Linked DNA regions of Homo sapiens: regions 2 and 3 are each linked to region 1. The links are contacts of gene promoters, found by promoter capture Hi-C in blood cells and fetal thymus (Javierre and others, 2016). All regions are on one chromosome and are shown on one strand. Each heading gives the region's core, a stretch centred on a gene start or on the middle of the fragment in contact. The rest is flanking DNA. Distances are from core to core; before and after follow the strand shown.

What was found. Contacts are between HindIII fragments. The CHiCAGO score rates a contact against its expected background, and 5 or more counts as called.
Region 2: a contact is called between a fragment that was not itself captured here and the fragment with the promoter of MYOM2 in region 1, in 14 of 17 cell types (neutrophils, monocytes, activated CD4 T cells and 11 more). The highest score is 14.3, in neutrophils.
Region 3: a fragment that was not itself captured here is called in contact with the fragment with the promoter of MYOM2 in region 1 in 1 of 17 cell types (neutrophils); the score reaches 7.3 in neutrophils.

Annotation. Positions count from the first base shown.
Region 1 is chr8:2,042,546-2,047,691 of GRCh38, forward strand. It overlaps MYOM2 (myomesin 2), which reads left to right and starts at 2,501. Exons shown (of 37, transcript NM_003970.4): 1 at 2,501-2,623. The HindIII fragment of the contact is 1,181 bases long and covers 2,395-3,575 here.
Region 2 is chr8:1,888,502-1,893,647 of GRCh38, forward strand. ARHGEF10 (Rho guanine nucleotide exchange factor 10) reads left to right here. Exons shown (of 29, transcript NM_014629.4): 12 at 5,068-5,145. Among named protein-coding and RNA genes, the nearest start is that of ARHGEF10, 67 kb to the left of the region's middle. The HindIII fragment of the contact is 2,954 bases long and covers 2,420-5,146 here.
Region 3 is chr8:1,907,169-1,912,314 of GRCh38, forward strand. ARHGEF10 (Rho guanine nucleotide exchange factor 10) reads left to right here. Exons shown (of 29, transcript NM_014629.4): 18 at 2,127-2,302. Among named protein-coding and RNA genes, the nearest start is that of KBTBD11-OT1, 62 kb to the right of the region's middle. RefSeq lists enhancers at 1-307, 4,623-5,146 and a silencer at 1,316-1,417. The HindIII fragment of the contact is 8,013 bases long and covers 1-5,146 here.

The sequences.
Region 1 (5,146 bases), core at 1,251-3,750:
TGTTGCCAAAACAGTTGGGGATTGTTGCTGTATAGAACATAACTTCACCCATGAATGGTCTGGCCTGGGGTTCCACAGGATTGAAGGCACGTGGTTTTAGAATGTCACTCTTTGCATTTCGATCTTCTTTTCTATGTTGTGGGAAATCCTCAGTGAGGCCAACTGTTTTCCATTCACAGGCTGCCAATTTGAGCTGTGGAAATGAGATTGCTGGACTCTTCCTTTGTCTTAGTCAGGATTCTCTTGATGGCCGATGATAGAAAGTCAGCCCAAGGAACTCCGGCAAGAAGGAGCCTGTCTGCCCCAGAGCTGGTGTGTCTGGTGGAGAATGCGGGGCCCATGCCTGGTCCCACCGCCTCCCTCCGTCTTTTGTCCCTTCTTGGCTCCAGGCTTCCTGCAGGTGCACCTCACCCAGGGAGTTTTGGAAGCTACATCCCGGGTGGGCAGGGGCAGGCATGGCTCAGGGAGATGGGGGTCTACGAGGAGGGTGGGGAGGGGTCTCCTGTCCCCAGCAGAAGGCGAAGCTCTGTCCCCATCAGGAGCCTATCTGTGTCCCGGGTCACACTCTGCTCTCTGGGTGGTGTGGCTGAAAGATCCAGGCTTTCTTAGACGCAGCACTGGATTTCTATATCACAGAAGGAGGGCACAGCCACCGTGAAATGTCAGAAAAGGAGGAGGAGTGTGCTGGCCCTTCCTTCTCTCAGGAGAGGCCCCTCCCCGGGATGAGATTGTCCCCTCCTGAGATGCTAGGACTGGGACCCAGGCGACTGAGATGCCAGGACTGGGACTCAGAGGACTGAGATGCCACCTGAGGGGACGAGGCACCATCACTGCCCCTCCAGTGTCGGCCACACTCAGAGGCAGGGGGGCAGAAGGGCTGAAGGGAAGTCCCCCAGGTCCCTGAGAAATGGATTCGCTAGAGAAGGAGATGCTGATAAACCGGAAGTAAACATTGCTTGCTCTGGTCTTGCTGTTTGCAACCCCCCCAAAATATGTGGGTTAAAACCCTAACCCCCAAAACGATGGTGTGAGGAGGTGGGGCCTTAGGGAAGTGACAAGGTCATGGAGGTGGAACCTCCCGAGTGGGATCAGTATCCTCATACAGAGGCCCCAAGAGCGGCCTGGCCCCTTGACTTGGTGAGGACTCAGGGACCGCGCCGTCCCAGAACCAGAAGGCTCTCCCCAGGCAGTGTCTGCTGGTACCTGGATCTTGGACTTCCAGTCCCCAGAACTGTGGGAAAGAAGCTCCTGTGTTTTATAAGCTACACGGTCTATGGTGTTTTGCTAAAGCAGCCTGAATAGACTAAGAAATCACTCAACAAACACTAATTAAATTAAATGCTAGGCCATCAGAATACGAAGGGGAAGAAGACAGAAACACTCGCCTCCTGATCCAGCATCCAGAACGCTCTGGGGCCCAGCAAGAGGCTGTGCTCGCGTCTTTCTCGTATCTGATCTTCGCCTCCATCCACCTGCTCGCTGGTCCTTGGCTGTGCCTCTGATACCCCAGTGTGAGAACGTGGAGTTTCTTAAGGCAATTCTCTTATCATATTTTCTCTACTTGTCACAACAAACTTACAGGAAAGTTGTTATTCCATGCGTTTTAGAGCTGGGGAGCATAGCCCCCGTGGGCTGAGCAGCTGGCCGAAGTCCTCAGCCCCTGTGGTGAGGTGCAGCTGGAGTGTGATTCTCCGGGTCCTCAGATGGGGGCATCCCCTTGAGGCCCCGCCTCTTGGCCAGGCTGCAGCCCAGGACCGTGCCAGGTGTGTGTTATCTATATTTGGACACACGCTGTGCGAAACGACGGGCACCCTGCAATTATCCGTGTGGTGTAGACGCAGTGTACGTCTGTGGTAATGGCTATAAATAAGCCCCGACTTGCCGACTAGGCACCGCTCCTCTTTTGGGTAGGCAGTTCTTGCTAAAATAGCCCTAAGATACAATCGAGTGAAGACCTGAGTCGTTCTTGAAATAAAAAAAAAAAAACGAACAAACACACGAACATGCACACACACGCTCACAAACCCAGGGGCTTGTGCACCTCCCTCCCTCCACAGCCGACCTCAACTCGGGTGTCCAGGCCTGCGAATGGCACAAATGCTCACTGAAATCCATGTCATTATTAAAGACTCATTCAGGAGTTGCAATTTGTGAGCCAGGGAACCTGTAGCTCGAAAGGATTGAAGATATGTCTGAGAATTCACACGTAAGGATTAGAACTCATGGAGGAGAGTTGCGGGGAGGGAGCGTGGGAAGTCAGTGCCCTGCCCTCTCTTTCTGGGTCGGGGGCTGAAGTGTCACACCCGGTTTCCTGGGAAAAGTGCAGTTTGGGACTCAGAAAGGACACGTTCCAGTTTTGAATCGTGATTTCCCCCGCCCTCAGTTTGAACAAGAAGCTTTTCCTCCTGAGGTCAGGCTGGTGATTTACGATGTGGGTATTGATGTGGGGAGAGGCAGGCCCAGGCGTCTATATATAGTAGCTCCTCAGACCTTAAACGGGAGGGAGGCACAGGCGCTTGCTTTGCAGGAGTCAGCTCTGCCTTCCTCGGCTGGAGTGTGGGTGGCTTGGTGAGCCGGTGGTCAGGAATTCTCTCTCCTCCTTGCAATTTTCCTTTCTGTCTGGGTAAGTGTCTTTCTCTTCTTGCCTTTTCTAATTTGTGGCTTTAAGGGGAGGACCGGTAACTTCTGCACTCACATTTTCTAAGTACCTCTACTTCAGGGTCAAGAAGAGAGAGCCAGTGCACCCCGTCGCAGGCACCCTTTACTGTGGAAAACAGAGCAATTAGTTCTGGGATCTGTATTTCTTTGACGAGGTTTTATGCTCAACTAACATTTTATTTCCCACAGCCGTGGTCTTTGCTAAGTGCCGTTTAGCACCCTGCGGCGTGTGCTTTGGGTTTTAGCCCTGGTCTCATCGTGGCCCCAGGGGGCCCCCCAGTCAGTGGACTGATGTCTGCAAGTTTCATGAGATTCTCAGAAACGAAAGCCTCCCCCGAGGAGAGGGCTGACTTATAAAGGTGTGAAATAATAAAACTGGATATTTTCTTAAGGGAAAAAAGAGTCGAGGGTCATTCAGCTTAGACCTAGCCTATATTATCCACGGTATGGGAAAGAGAACAATCCTTGTCAGGACTTGCAAGTTTTTGCCCAAAAATGACAGCGTTCTTACGGCTGTTTTCTTCTTTGTGCTGTTGGGTGTGTTGTGACCCTTCAGACTTCTTCAGCTCCACTCCGCTGATAGAGGCTGTGCCTTCTCAGGGCGTGCTCTTGAAATGCAACCTGCTGGAGAAAGACAGTGGGGCTGGGTGGTTGCACGTGGAAGGCACCGGAGGCAAACGGAAGGAAGGGGTTTGCCATCACTGGGAACACCTGGCCTTTTCTAATTCTCCATTTCACATTCCTTTCTTACTAAGTAGAAGTAAAACAGGACTCAAAGAAAGCGTGGAACAAAGATAATTTAAGGCGTTATTTAATAAACCAAGTCCCAAGCTAAAACTTGTCTTGGGAGCCAAGGGCTTAGCCACTTGTGGCACAGGCCAACGCTGCGTGTCTGGGAGTCCCTTTCCCCTCTAGAAAGCTTTAATTTGGTGTATTTATTGACTTTGACATTTTTAACTGTACAAACAATTTCCTTCATTAAGTGGAAGTCAATGTTTTGTACTTCAAACATTTTTGCAAATTAAAACCCATCCTGGTGACATGAGGAATGGGCTCCACACGTTGTTTGCAGGAAGGAATTAGGATGGGGATATCAGACACGTGGTCCCCTGCACTGGAGGAGAGGCTCGCGTTTCATCCTGGTGTCATGATTCCTAAACGTGTCAGGAGCATTCCGGGAGTGGCCGGGGAGCTGGGCTGTGGTGGAAAGTGGGCTGGACGCTGTCAGGAGAGTCAGCTGGCGCCTGGGTTCGGCCGTGGCCCTACCGGTGACCCGGGCAAGTCATATTTCCCTGGGGACGGTCTGTGCTAACAGTACAGCGTGGCGCCAGGATTATCTACACACAGGCTGTCCAAGCTGGGGGACTGTTAGCTGCCACCTCACTCAGCCCCCTGTTTTACAGCAGAGCAGGTGGAGGCCCCTGAGCTGAAGGTCAGCAGGTCCCCACTGGAGTCTCAGCCTCCCAATGCGCCTGAGCCCCAGGGACTCACATCAAAAACTACCCTGCGAGGAAAAGCTGCTTTCTTTCTCTCTCTCTTTCTTTTTTCTTTTTTTTTTTTTTGGTTGGTGTGTGTAGGGGGTATTTAACACATGTCTGAGATAGTTCCTTAAAAAGGAAAACAGCTTTCTATGTAGACAGTAGAGGGACATTGGGGAGCTGATCGGCCCAGGTCCTGTCATTTTCTTTATAGTGTCATAAATAGTACAGGTTGATCATTCCAAATCTGAAGATCAGAAATCCAGAATGCTCTAAATTCTGAAACTTTGTGAGCGCTGGTATGACTCTCAAAGGAAATGCTTACATGAGCATCTCAAGTATCCAATTTCTGGATTTGAGTTGCTCAACCAGTAAGTATAAATGCAAGTATTCCACAGTCTGAAAAACAAATCGGGAATTGGAAACTCTTCTGGTCCAAGCATTTTGGATAAGGGATGCTCCACCTGTAGGGTGCATTTGGCAAGTCCTCTCCAGGGTTCCCTCCACTCAGAAGGGCCCTGTGCTGCCAGGGCTGCAGGCACCCAGCACGTGCTGAGTCAGTGGGGATTTGCTTGCAAAGACGTCATCACACCCGGCCAGGAGGTGGTGGCCCAGGCTGGGTGAGGGACACTGGGGAAGTTCTAACATAGGAAGTCCCCCAAGGAGTGAAGAGATTGCGGAGGGGACACACATTCAGGGTGGGTGAGGCTGGACGTGCAGTCCTGCTGGTTTTCTGGGTTGGGCATGTGATTGATAAAAGTGGAGTTGAGGGCACATTGGCACTGGGAGTCAAATGCGCAGAAGACTTGAGCTTGCTACTCTCCCGAGCCAGGAGCTCTAAGGTGTTTTCATTGTTGAAATCCAAGGGTTCTGATTTAGGCTTGGCTGGCACGTTGCAAGTGACCCCATACTTGTGGAATCAACTGAGGCTGATGGATTCTGCAAAGCCTCTGACACCTCCTGATTTTGGTGGTCCTGAGCATGAAGTGAGCAGGGAATACATGTGGGGA
Region 2 (5,146 bases), core at 2,647-5,146, 150 kb before region 1:
TGGAGATACTGAGTGGGGTGAGGGGTCTGTGAGGAGACGCTGAGTGGGGTGAGGTATGGGGAGACACTGAGTGGGGTGTGAGGGGTCTGTGAGGTGTCACTGAGTGTGGTGAGGTTTGTGAGGAAACACAGAGTGTGGTAAGGGTCCTGAGGAAACACTGAGTTGGGTGAGGGTTTGTGAGGAGACACTGAATAGGGTGAGGTTTGTGAGGAGACACTGAATAGGGTGAGGTTTGTGAGGAGACACTGAATAGGGTGAGGTTTGTGAGGAGACACTGAGTGGGGTGAGTATTGTGAGGAGACACTGAGTGGGGTGAGAGTTATGAGGAGACACTGAATAGGGTGAGGTTTGTGAGGAGACACTGAGTGGGGTGAGAGTTATGAGGAGACACTGAGTTGGGTGAGGGTTGTGAGGAGACAGTGGGGTGAGGGGTCTGTGACGAGACACTGAGTGGGGTGAGGGGTCTGCGAGGAGACACTGAGGTGTGAGGGGTCTACAAGGAGTCACGGAGTGCAGTGAGAGTTGTGAGGAAACATGGAGTGGGGTGCGGGTCATGAGGAGACAGTGATTGGGGTGAGGGGTCCGTGAGGAGACACTGAGTGGGGTGTGAGGGGTCTGTGAGGAGACACTGTGAGTGGGGTGAGGGTTGTGAGGAGACGCTGAGTTGGGGGGTTGTGAGGAGAGCGTGGGGTGAGGTTTATTAGGAGACACTGAATGGGGTGAGGGTTGTGAGGAGACATTGAGTGGGATGAGAGGTGTGAGGAGACACTGAATGTGGTGAGGGTTTGTGAGGAGATACTGCATGGGGTGAGCTTTCTTAGGAGACACTGAGTGGGTAAGAGTTGTGAGGAGACACTGAGTGGGGTGAGGGGTATGTGAGGAGACAGTGATGTGAGGCATCTGTGAGGAGACACTGAGTGGGGTGAGGGGTCTGTGAGGAGACACTGAGTGGGGTGAGGGGTCTGTGAGGAGACACTGAGTGGGGTGAGGGGTCTGTGAGGAGACACTGAGTGGGGTGAGGGGTATTGAGGAGACACTGAGTAGGGTAAGGAGTCTGTGTGGAGACACTGAGTGGGGTGAGGGGTTTGTGAGGAGACACTGAGTGTGGGTGAGGGGTCTGTGAGGAGTCATGGAGTGTGGTGTGAGTTGTGAGAAAACTCGGAGTGGGGTGAGGGTCGTGAGGAAACAGTGGGGTGAAGGTTTGTGAGGAGACCCTGAGTGGAGTGAGGGTTGCGAGGAGACATTGAGTGGGATGAGGGTTGTGAGGAGACACTGAGTGGGGTGAGGGTTGTGAGCAGACACTTCATGGGAGGAGGGTTTGTGAGAAGACACTAGGTGGGGTGAGGTTTGTGAGGAGACACTGAGTGTGGTGAGGGTTTGTGAGGAGACACTGCATGGGGTGAACTTTGTTAGGAGGCAGTGAGTGGGGCGAGGGTTGTGAGGAGACACTGAGTGGGGGAGGGGTATGTGAGGAGACACTGAGTGATGTGAGCAATCTGTGAGGAGACACTGAGTGCGGTGAGGGGTATTGAGACACTGAGTGGGGTAAGGAGTCTGTGCGGAGACACCGAGTGTGGTGTGAGGGGTCTGTGAGGAGTCACCGAGTGCCGTGTGAGTTGTGAGAAAACGGAGTGGGGTGAGGGTTTGTGAGGAGACACTGAGTGGGGTGAGGGTTTGTGAGGAGACACTGAATAGGGTGAGGGTTGTGAAGAGACACTGAGTGGGGTGAGGGTTTGTGAGGAGGCACTGAGGGTTGTGGATTGTGAGGAGACATTGAGTGGGGTGAGGGTTCTGAGGAGACACTGATGGGGTGAGGGTTGTGAGCAGATACTGAGTGGGGTGAGAGTTGTGAGGATACACTGAGTTGGGTGAGGAGTCTGTGAGGAGACACTGAATTGGGTGAGGGTTGTGAGAAGACACTGAATGGGTTGAGGTTGTGAGGAGACAGTGAGTGGGGTGAGTGTTGTGAGGAGACACTGAGTGGGGTGAGGGTTGTGAGGAGATTCTGAGTGGGGCGAGACGGGTCTCTGAGGAGACACTGAGTGGGGTGAGAGTTTTGAGGAGTCACTGAGTGTGTAAGGGTCTGTGAGGAGACACTGAGTTTGGCGAAGGTTATGAAGAGACACTGAGTGCAGTGAGGGTTGTGAGGAGACACTAAGTGGGGTGTGAGGGGTCTGTGAGGAGACACTGAGTGGGTCACGGGGTCCGTGGGGTGTCACTGGGTAAGAGTCGAGGTTCTGTGAAGAGAGAGTGAGTAGTGATTGGTAGGGGTGTGTGCACATATCAGAGGAAAGAGGTTTGACCTTTTTGTTGTATGGCACTTTTCCAAGGGCCTGTCTGTTGGGTACTGATTTTGGTGGATTTGCTCAGCGAATTGGCAGTGACTGTTCATTGTTTTATGGTTTCTGTAAAGGGTTTAAGCTTCCCAAATTAGTCTCACAGACCTGGATGAAATTCTGTTTTTTGCTCTGATTATCTCAGTTACTTTTGTCTAGTAGTTAATTTCTGAAGTTCAGTTTTCCTTTTCTTTGAAGGGTGGATTTTAATGTCTATTTCCATCTTGCTTATCCCACCGTAATGGTTCAGTGAAGTCCTGTATAGCAAGGTCTCTGTGTTGTGTTAGCACAGTGCCGTCACTTTCAATGAGATGATAGCTGGGATTACGATTAGAAACTTAGCAGTATTTAGGATTTCTGCATTCTTTCATGCAGCTTTCTTTATTGTAGTCATGATTCACATCGATTTTGTTTTCCTCCTGCCAAATGTGTTGTCCATGAGAGTTTTCTCTTGAGTGGTTAAATGGGGGGTATTGATGCTCTTTAATTCTTGTTCTCCTCTAGAATTGAATTAAGGGAAACATAACTCTAAAATGCTGTATATTAAACATTCTTTGCATGCCTAATTTGGGGGTGGAAAAAGGCAAATGTTCTTTTTGAAATAAAGAAGGGTCGTTCTTTACTTGGAAAGTACCCTTGATGCTGGAGGACAGAGGATCCTGTCCCGTCCCCATTCCCGGTGAGGACATGAGGAAGGTCAGGCTGGGCCAGGCCCAGGCACCATCCGCAGCTCTCCCAGCTCAGGCCTAGGAGCCTCTCTGATTGTCCTCCAGCCCTGGCTTTGTCCAGTTGCCCCATGACCTTCATGCCAGGGACCCTCCCTGTGGGGGCTGCATTCAGGATGGATTTCTCCTCTATGACTTTAGGTCAGGCTTCTCAGGAAGAGAGTGACACTCTTCCTGAGCACTGGAGGCTCCCTGTCCCACCCCTTAGTGGGCATATAATTTGACGTGTCAGATTGAGCTGCCAGAAAGACTGACATCACGTGCAGTAGCCATGAAACCCAGAATATTGGTTTTGTTTTTGTATTTTAATATTATACCTATTCCAGATCTTTTGACCTGATACTATATTAGTATCATCTCAGGACTTTAAAAAATATACATACATAATATATATACACATATAAATAATACATATACATAATATAGGTACACATATCAATAATATATATAGTATAATATATAACATATTATATATATTACATGTATATATACACAAATACATTTTTATGTTTGACCCCCACAACTGTGACTCAGGAGCCTTGGGAGAGTGTTTGGGAATCTGAATTTCAGAAGAAAGACTGGCCTGGGTTTGATGATGGGAGGGGTTGCTTGGCCTTTGGGTTCTAAGCTCTCGTTTGAAAGGGAAGCCTCTGTGCTCTGACGTTTCCTGTGAATCAGTCAGTAGCAGCAGCTGCAGCTTCCCAGCTTCTGGCTCTGTGTGTGTGTGTGTGTGTGTGTGTGTGTGTGTGTGTGTGTGTGTGTGTGTTTAATCCCAGCGATACCTGTATTTTTTAAATACATTAGTATTTTTTTAATACATCAGTTTCTTCTTTGGGTATTTTAGAAGGGTTGATTTTTGTCTTTTGCGAATAGAATAATCCTTTCTCTAAAAGGAGTAATCTCTCCATTGTTAATCAGGTTTTGTAAATCTTGGTTGCCCTGCAATCTTTTTAACCAGAGAAATTTCCGTTGTGAAAAATGCTCTTTGCCCGCTAGGTGGCAACGCAGTCCCTTCAAATAGCATAATCCAGGGCTGCAGGTAGCCTGATGCTACACTGGAGTACCCGTGTGTGTGCATGTGTGTGTGTGGTGTGCTTCCGTGCGCGCACGTGTGTGTTATCTTGCACATATATGGGGTGGGTGTGTACAGGAGTGTGTGTGGTGTGGTGTGCCCGGGCGTGTGTTCATATGCGGGAGTGCGCATGCTGGTTTAGGAGAAACTCTATTGCCCTGTTTTGCTCTGTTTTCCATGAATTGGCAAATTGGAAGTACAATGATCACTAGCTGGACTGTGTTTAGAATGAGGGAAATGCCGGGCGTCCTCATAGGCCTTTCACGGGATCTTACAGCCACAAGTCTATTGTATGTGCTTCAGTGATGAAAAGCAAGATGGAAAATAACGTCAGGTTTTGATTGCAAACATGTCAGATTGTAGAGATTTTTTTTTTGCACCTCTAAGTGACATGAATAATTTACTGTCCACATTCTTGGCCTCATAGGTAGATCTTTGGATGGTTGAAAGATCTTTGCAAAAAAAAAAAAAAAAAAAAGATTCCTCCACATTCCACAAACTTTGTTTTCTTAGAACTTTGGAATAAATATTTTAGATAAGTGTTGCTAATAACATTCATTGATCAAGACTGGAACTATTTTTTATCCTGAATTCATAGGAAGTATCATCTACCTGAATGTTGGATACATAAAATACAATCTGTTAATTCAGTATATTATCGTTGCATAAATGAAGGAATTTCTTTTCAGTGCTGTAATTTTTTTTGTCCCAGCTGTAGTTATAGTTCATAGTTTGAGGTTTAAGACATTATATAATTGTATTAATGGGGCGAAGTATGTTTTGTACCTGTAATGTTATTTAATTAGGCTACCCTTGTGCACTGTTTTCTAAAAATAGAAAAGTTACTTATCAGCAAGCCTCAGCATAGAAGTAAAATGTATCTGTGTGTATTATAAAGCAGTTTTCTATCATTGTACTTCCAAATTTCCAACAGGTTGTAAGAAGATATATACTGGGTTCAGTTGTCGACAGTGAAAAGAACTACGTAGATGCTCTTAAGAGGATTTTGGAGG
Region 3 (5,146 bases), core at 1,461-3,960, 140 kb before region 1:
TCCACCCGTTTCCCTGGTGTTATGAGGTGCTTCCCATAGTGTGGAGACTAAAGGTGTTTATCACTTAACAGTATGGCTTCCAAGTTTAACTGTCCCAGAACCCCCCTCTCCATGTAACACCTGGAAAGTTAGTTTTCAGTGAAGTGGCCCCACTGTGGCTGAATCCACCCAGCTCCTCACCTGCAAGTTGGCCCACACGATGTGTCAAGTTGGGGACATTAATGCTTGTTCCACCTGCCCTGGGAGACAAGATCATAGAAGTGAAATGACCTTGTAAACGGCAAAGTCCTAAGCAAATATAATGGTCCTTGTTGAGTCTTTTCCGCATTCATCACTGATGTTTGTCTGACACTGACTGCTGCTCCAGAACCCCTCAGGCTGCTGTTGGGGAGCGCCAGGACACACTTGACTCTTGGGCAGTTTTAAGTACGTTTAAAATTCTCCCGCTGCCAGACGTGGTGTACTTTAAAGATGAATTAAAATGGATACTTTAAAAGTAACTCAGCTGTGCTTACTGCTAGAGGATTCCTTAAAATAACGCCCCTGCCTTTCCCACGATGCCAGGGCTTGAATTTCTTTTTTTGCGAAGTGCAGTGGTGAGTCGCAATTCCTTTCCCATGGACATGTTGTCAGTGTGAGATTTTCAGCGACAGTGCCCGAAGGTGATGAGATGAGAATGCATTTTGTTTCAAATAGCTCCCAAGGACCCTTTGGTCGGCCCTGTGAACATTAAGATTCTAAACCTCCTCTGTAGGGATGGAGATTTTTACATTCAAAGAGGAGGAATCGGAATTTTGGTAAGAACTCATGGGCATTTCTGTTTTTCTAAATTGGAGGCACAGTCTAATTCACGGAACACAACCCATCTTTCCTCTTACTGTGTCTGAATTGTTCTTCCTCCTTTCCCTTCCTGTATGGACTGGATGTCCTCATGGAGGGCAGAGTGCTCTGGTGTAAGAAGGAACTGGAGAGCTTGGGTGCAGACGGGCTCCCAGCCAGTCAGGTGCTCAGTCCAATGCATAGCACCCGGCATTTTGGTTATTTCTACCCACACTTTGATTTTTTTTTTTTTTTTTTTTTGAGAAAGAGTCTCGCTCTGTCACCCAGGCTGGAGTGCTGTGGCTCGATCTCAGCTCGCTGCAAGCTCTGCCTCCCGGGTTCACGCCATTCTCCTGCCTCAGCCTCCCTAGTAGCTGGGACTACAGGCACCCACCACCACACCCAGCTAATTTTTTAAATATTTTTAGTAGAGATGGGGTGTCACTGTGTTAGCCAGGATGGTCTCAATCTCCTGACCTTGTGATCTGCCTGCCTTGGCCTCCCAAAGTGCTGGGATTACAGGCGTGAGCCACCGCGCCCGGCCCACACTTTGATTTTTAACGGCAATATCTTGAAGAAAAGCAAAACGTGATGATCACTAAGTGAGAATAATGGTTGATTCTGGAGGGTGGGATTTCCTGGGGCTGCGGGGATGCTGGCGATGTCACAGCCTTGGCCTTGGAGTCCGCTACACAGATGTTGGCGCAGGTCGTTTCCACTAGACTGTACATATGTGTTTTGTGTTTCTTCACGTATATGTTCTATTTATGATAAAAGAAGAAAATAATCTGTATAAGTCATAGGGTTTTTTTTCGGTTCAATTTCCGTATACTTGATAAATATTTTAGTCATGGAGTGTAATGGTATGATTTGATTCTATTAAAGTGGTTACAGTGTAGCCATAAAAGAATAAAGCAGCAATTTGAGAGTTAACTCTTATGAAACCGCCAGAGAATATCTCTATCCACATAGGAGACTTTTCCTGGTAATCGAGCACCTTTGCTCAGAGTCATCAGCAAGCACCGAGCTGCTTCCTGTTAAGCCTTTATGGAAAACCTCGGAGCTTCCGGGAGATCCGTCCCCTGTGCGGCTCTTCCCTGCACTCTCTCTCATCCAGTTCGAGGCCTCTTTATGGCAGCAAGTGGGGACTCAGTAAGAAAGTCAGAAGCACAATTACTATTGTGAGAAAGTCTGAAGAGTTACAATTCAGCAGTGGGAAGTTTCTCACTTGAACATCTGAGGGATGAACATTACCATAACGTGTTCATGTAATTATTCGTAAAACAAGGATCTTTTGGTCGTTTCAGCCCCTCTCATGACAGCCGTGTGATGAGCAGCCAGAGGTACTTGCTGAAGTGGAGCGTTCCACTGGGACATGTGGACGCCATCGAGTATGGCAGCAGCGCAGGCACGGGCGAGCACAGCAGGCACCTTGCCGTTCACCCGCCGGAGAGCCTGGCCGTGGTTGCTAACGCGAAACCAAGTAAGTGATGCTTTCTCTCACGTTCGTGCCGTGGGGCCAGGGTAACTCTCACGTTCATGCTAGCTGTGGGGCCAGCGTAAGCTCCACCATCAGCAGGTTCAGGGTTTAACATGGCAAGTCTGCAGAGGTGATCCAGTCTCTAGAATCTGTATGCTGTCTGACTAACATGGCCAAGTCGGCTGCTCATCACTGACTTGTCCCACGTGCAGCTGGGGCTCCTTCGGGTTCGGGCCGTGCACCTGGCCAGTCAGAAGTGGATTCCGTCTTCCCGGTCCAGTGAGCTCAGTTTTGCGTTTCCAGTTAACCAAATCAGGACTTGGCAGTGCTGGTCTCTTGAGTGTGTGGAGCTGGCGTGCAGGAAGTCATAGAGCTTGAGGCGGTGGTGGTTCCAGCTCGGCTCTTTGCTCACCTGCTCACACTGCTGGGCAGCGTTGTGATGTCTTTACTCAGTTTCCCCATGGAGGCAGTGCTTGTCCATGAACTTCCCAAGGTGAAAGGAGAGGAGTCAGAATGCTTTGGCAATGTCTTAGCATTGCACATGATTTATGATTATTATTACCTAACATTGTTCAGACTGCAGATTTTAATCTTAGTGTAAAAATCATTACCTTCTCTTCATTATTAAAAAAAAAATCCAAAGAACGACTGGCTAAGTTTTATTCACTTTTTGGGCTCTACCCCTGAATTGTAGAACAATTTAAAAAACACGATGCATGGGAACTTTCAGTTAACCTTTCATAGGTTAAATATGCATGAATTTTTCAGATTATTTTGTTTCTGACATGTTCAGAAGCAAGGAAACCACGTGAGAACGTTTAACCTTTTCTGATTGAATTTGCATATTCACCTGGATTTGCAGAACATGATGTAAGGAGTATTAGGTCTAATTCGCTTTGGGACCGCTTTTATTTTTCTCATTCCCCTGATGTTAATAGTCATTCTGTTTGGTAATCTGCCTAGTAGGCTAATTCGTCAAGCATATTATTACAATTTGTAATCTCTTAAATTTCTGACTCTTAAATCCTCGTCCTATTTAAAGTGGTATGCGTCTGTATCAAACCCTCTCCACAAATAACTGAAGTACCAAAACCCAGATTTCCCAAAAGAGCTGTTCTGGGGGGTGGTATGGAGAGCGAGAGGGAGGAGCCGAGGGAGAGGGGACATGGGGACAGAGAAATCATTTCTGACATGATTCATTAACATTTTATTCAAGAGCAAATTGGATGCCTTGTTAAAGATTTTTAAAAATCCTTTTAAATTATTTGGAAACATTGATTGGCAATCAAATTTATATTGTGGTTTTGTGAACAAAAACACCTTCATGTATTTTATAATGCTAGCAATCTTAGAATTTATTCATAATTAAGATGGCCTTATTGTATTTAAATAGCTAAAGGTGACTTTGATCCATAAAATAGTATGTATTCCATGCAATGTTATATTTTCTTATTCATCTTATTATTTATGATTTATGCTGAGCTAACTTAGATTGATTCAGTTAGCAATGTGAAAAAAGCATAAAGCAGGGTGATTCAACCCATTTTTAAAATACTATGTGGAGGAAATAACCTGGAGTGAGTTTATCATTGCATTTGCACCCTGGATTTAACTATGAGCTTCCTATCAGCCACAGCAAGAGGAGAAACACTGAGTATGGACAAGTTCTCATTGTCTATTAAAAAGAAATATGCCACATTGGAGAGTAAATGTTTTTCTTTATTCTGAATTCAAGGAGGTCTTTGGTGTTATATCTCCAGTTAAGGGGACTTTGAAACACACTTGAAAACGTATATGATTGTGTTTTGCATACCTGCATTGATTTTTTTTTTATCACGTCTCTATGGAAAAGCACCTAGTTAACCTCAGTGAAACCATTTTTCCATGGGACATCTTTTTGCCCAATGCCTTAAACAGAGAGCTTAAATGATAAACTTGTTTTGCCATCAATAGTGTTTTGTTCCTCTAGATTAAAAAAGAAACTTTTAAAACAAATTATTTAAAATGTGCTAATTCTGTATGTGTCTGAAGATAGAACTCAAGTCAGAATTCTCTGGGGCTTTTTTCCGGCGTCAGGTAAGAGCATGGTGCTGTCTTGCATTTACAGAGAAGGTGAAAGTGGGCACCGTGCTTGGTGCTGGGACTGGCAGGGCTTCTATCCCGACACGTCTGGATTCATCCAGGGTGGACCGACAGTCTCTTGTTAGCATTGATCTTGAGTGGGTCTATGTGGTATCACATCCATCATGTTGATCCCATGAGTGCCACGCTGCAGCCGGTGAATGACGTCCCTTCACTCTGCTCATCTCAGCTCACTCCTTACCGTTTATGCTGACAAAACCCAGGTACATCCATGAACCACATCTCCATGGGGCTGCCTGTAATACCTCCCTCAGAGTTTTCATCAAATGGCTTCAAATTCACTCTCAGTGTTTGTTTCTTCCGGTTCTCTTGGTTTGTCACTTCTAAATTATATCGAGAAGCTAAGTCAGAAATTCTCATTCTCAGTCGATAGTCATAGGACTTCTGCTGCTTGAATGACTGTTCTAAAATTCAGTGTTGGAAATGTTGGTGTGTTACTTGATATTGACAGAGTGTAGGCAGCACTGCCCAGCAACCTCTGCTTGCAGAGCGGGCAGCGTGGTAACCACCTGAGACCAGTGAGCAGCTGCAGCAGGGAGCTCCCTGTCCCTGCAAAAGCGCCGTGTCGATTGTGTGTTTGCCGTGTGGTGTTAGACTCAGCAGGAAGCTCGCTGTCCCCGCAGAAGCGCCATGTGGATTGTGCGTTTGCCGTGCGGTATTAGACTCAGCAGGAAGCTCGCCGTCCCTGCAAAGGCGCTGTGTGGA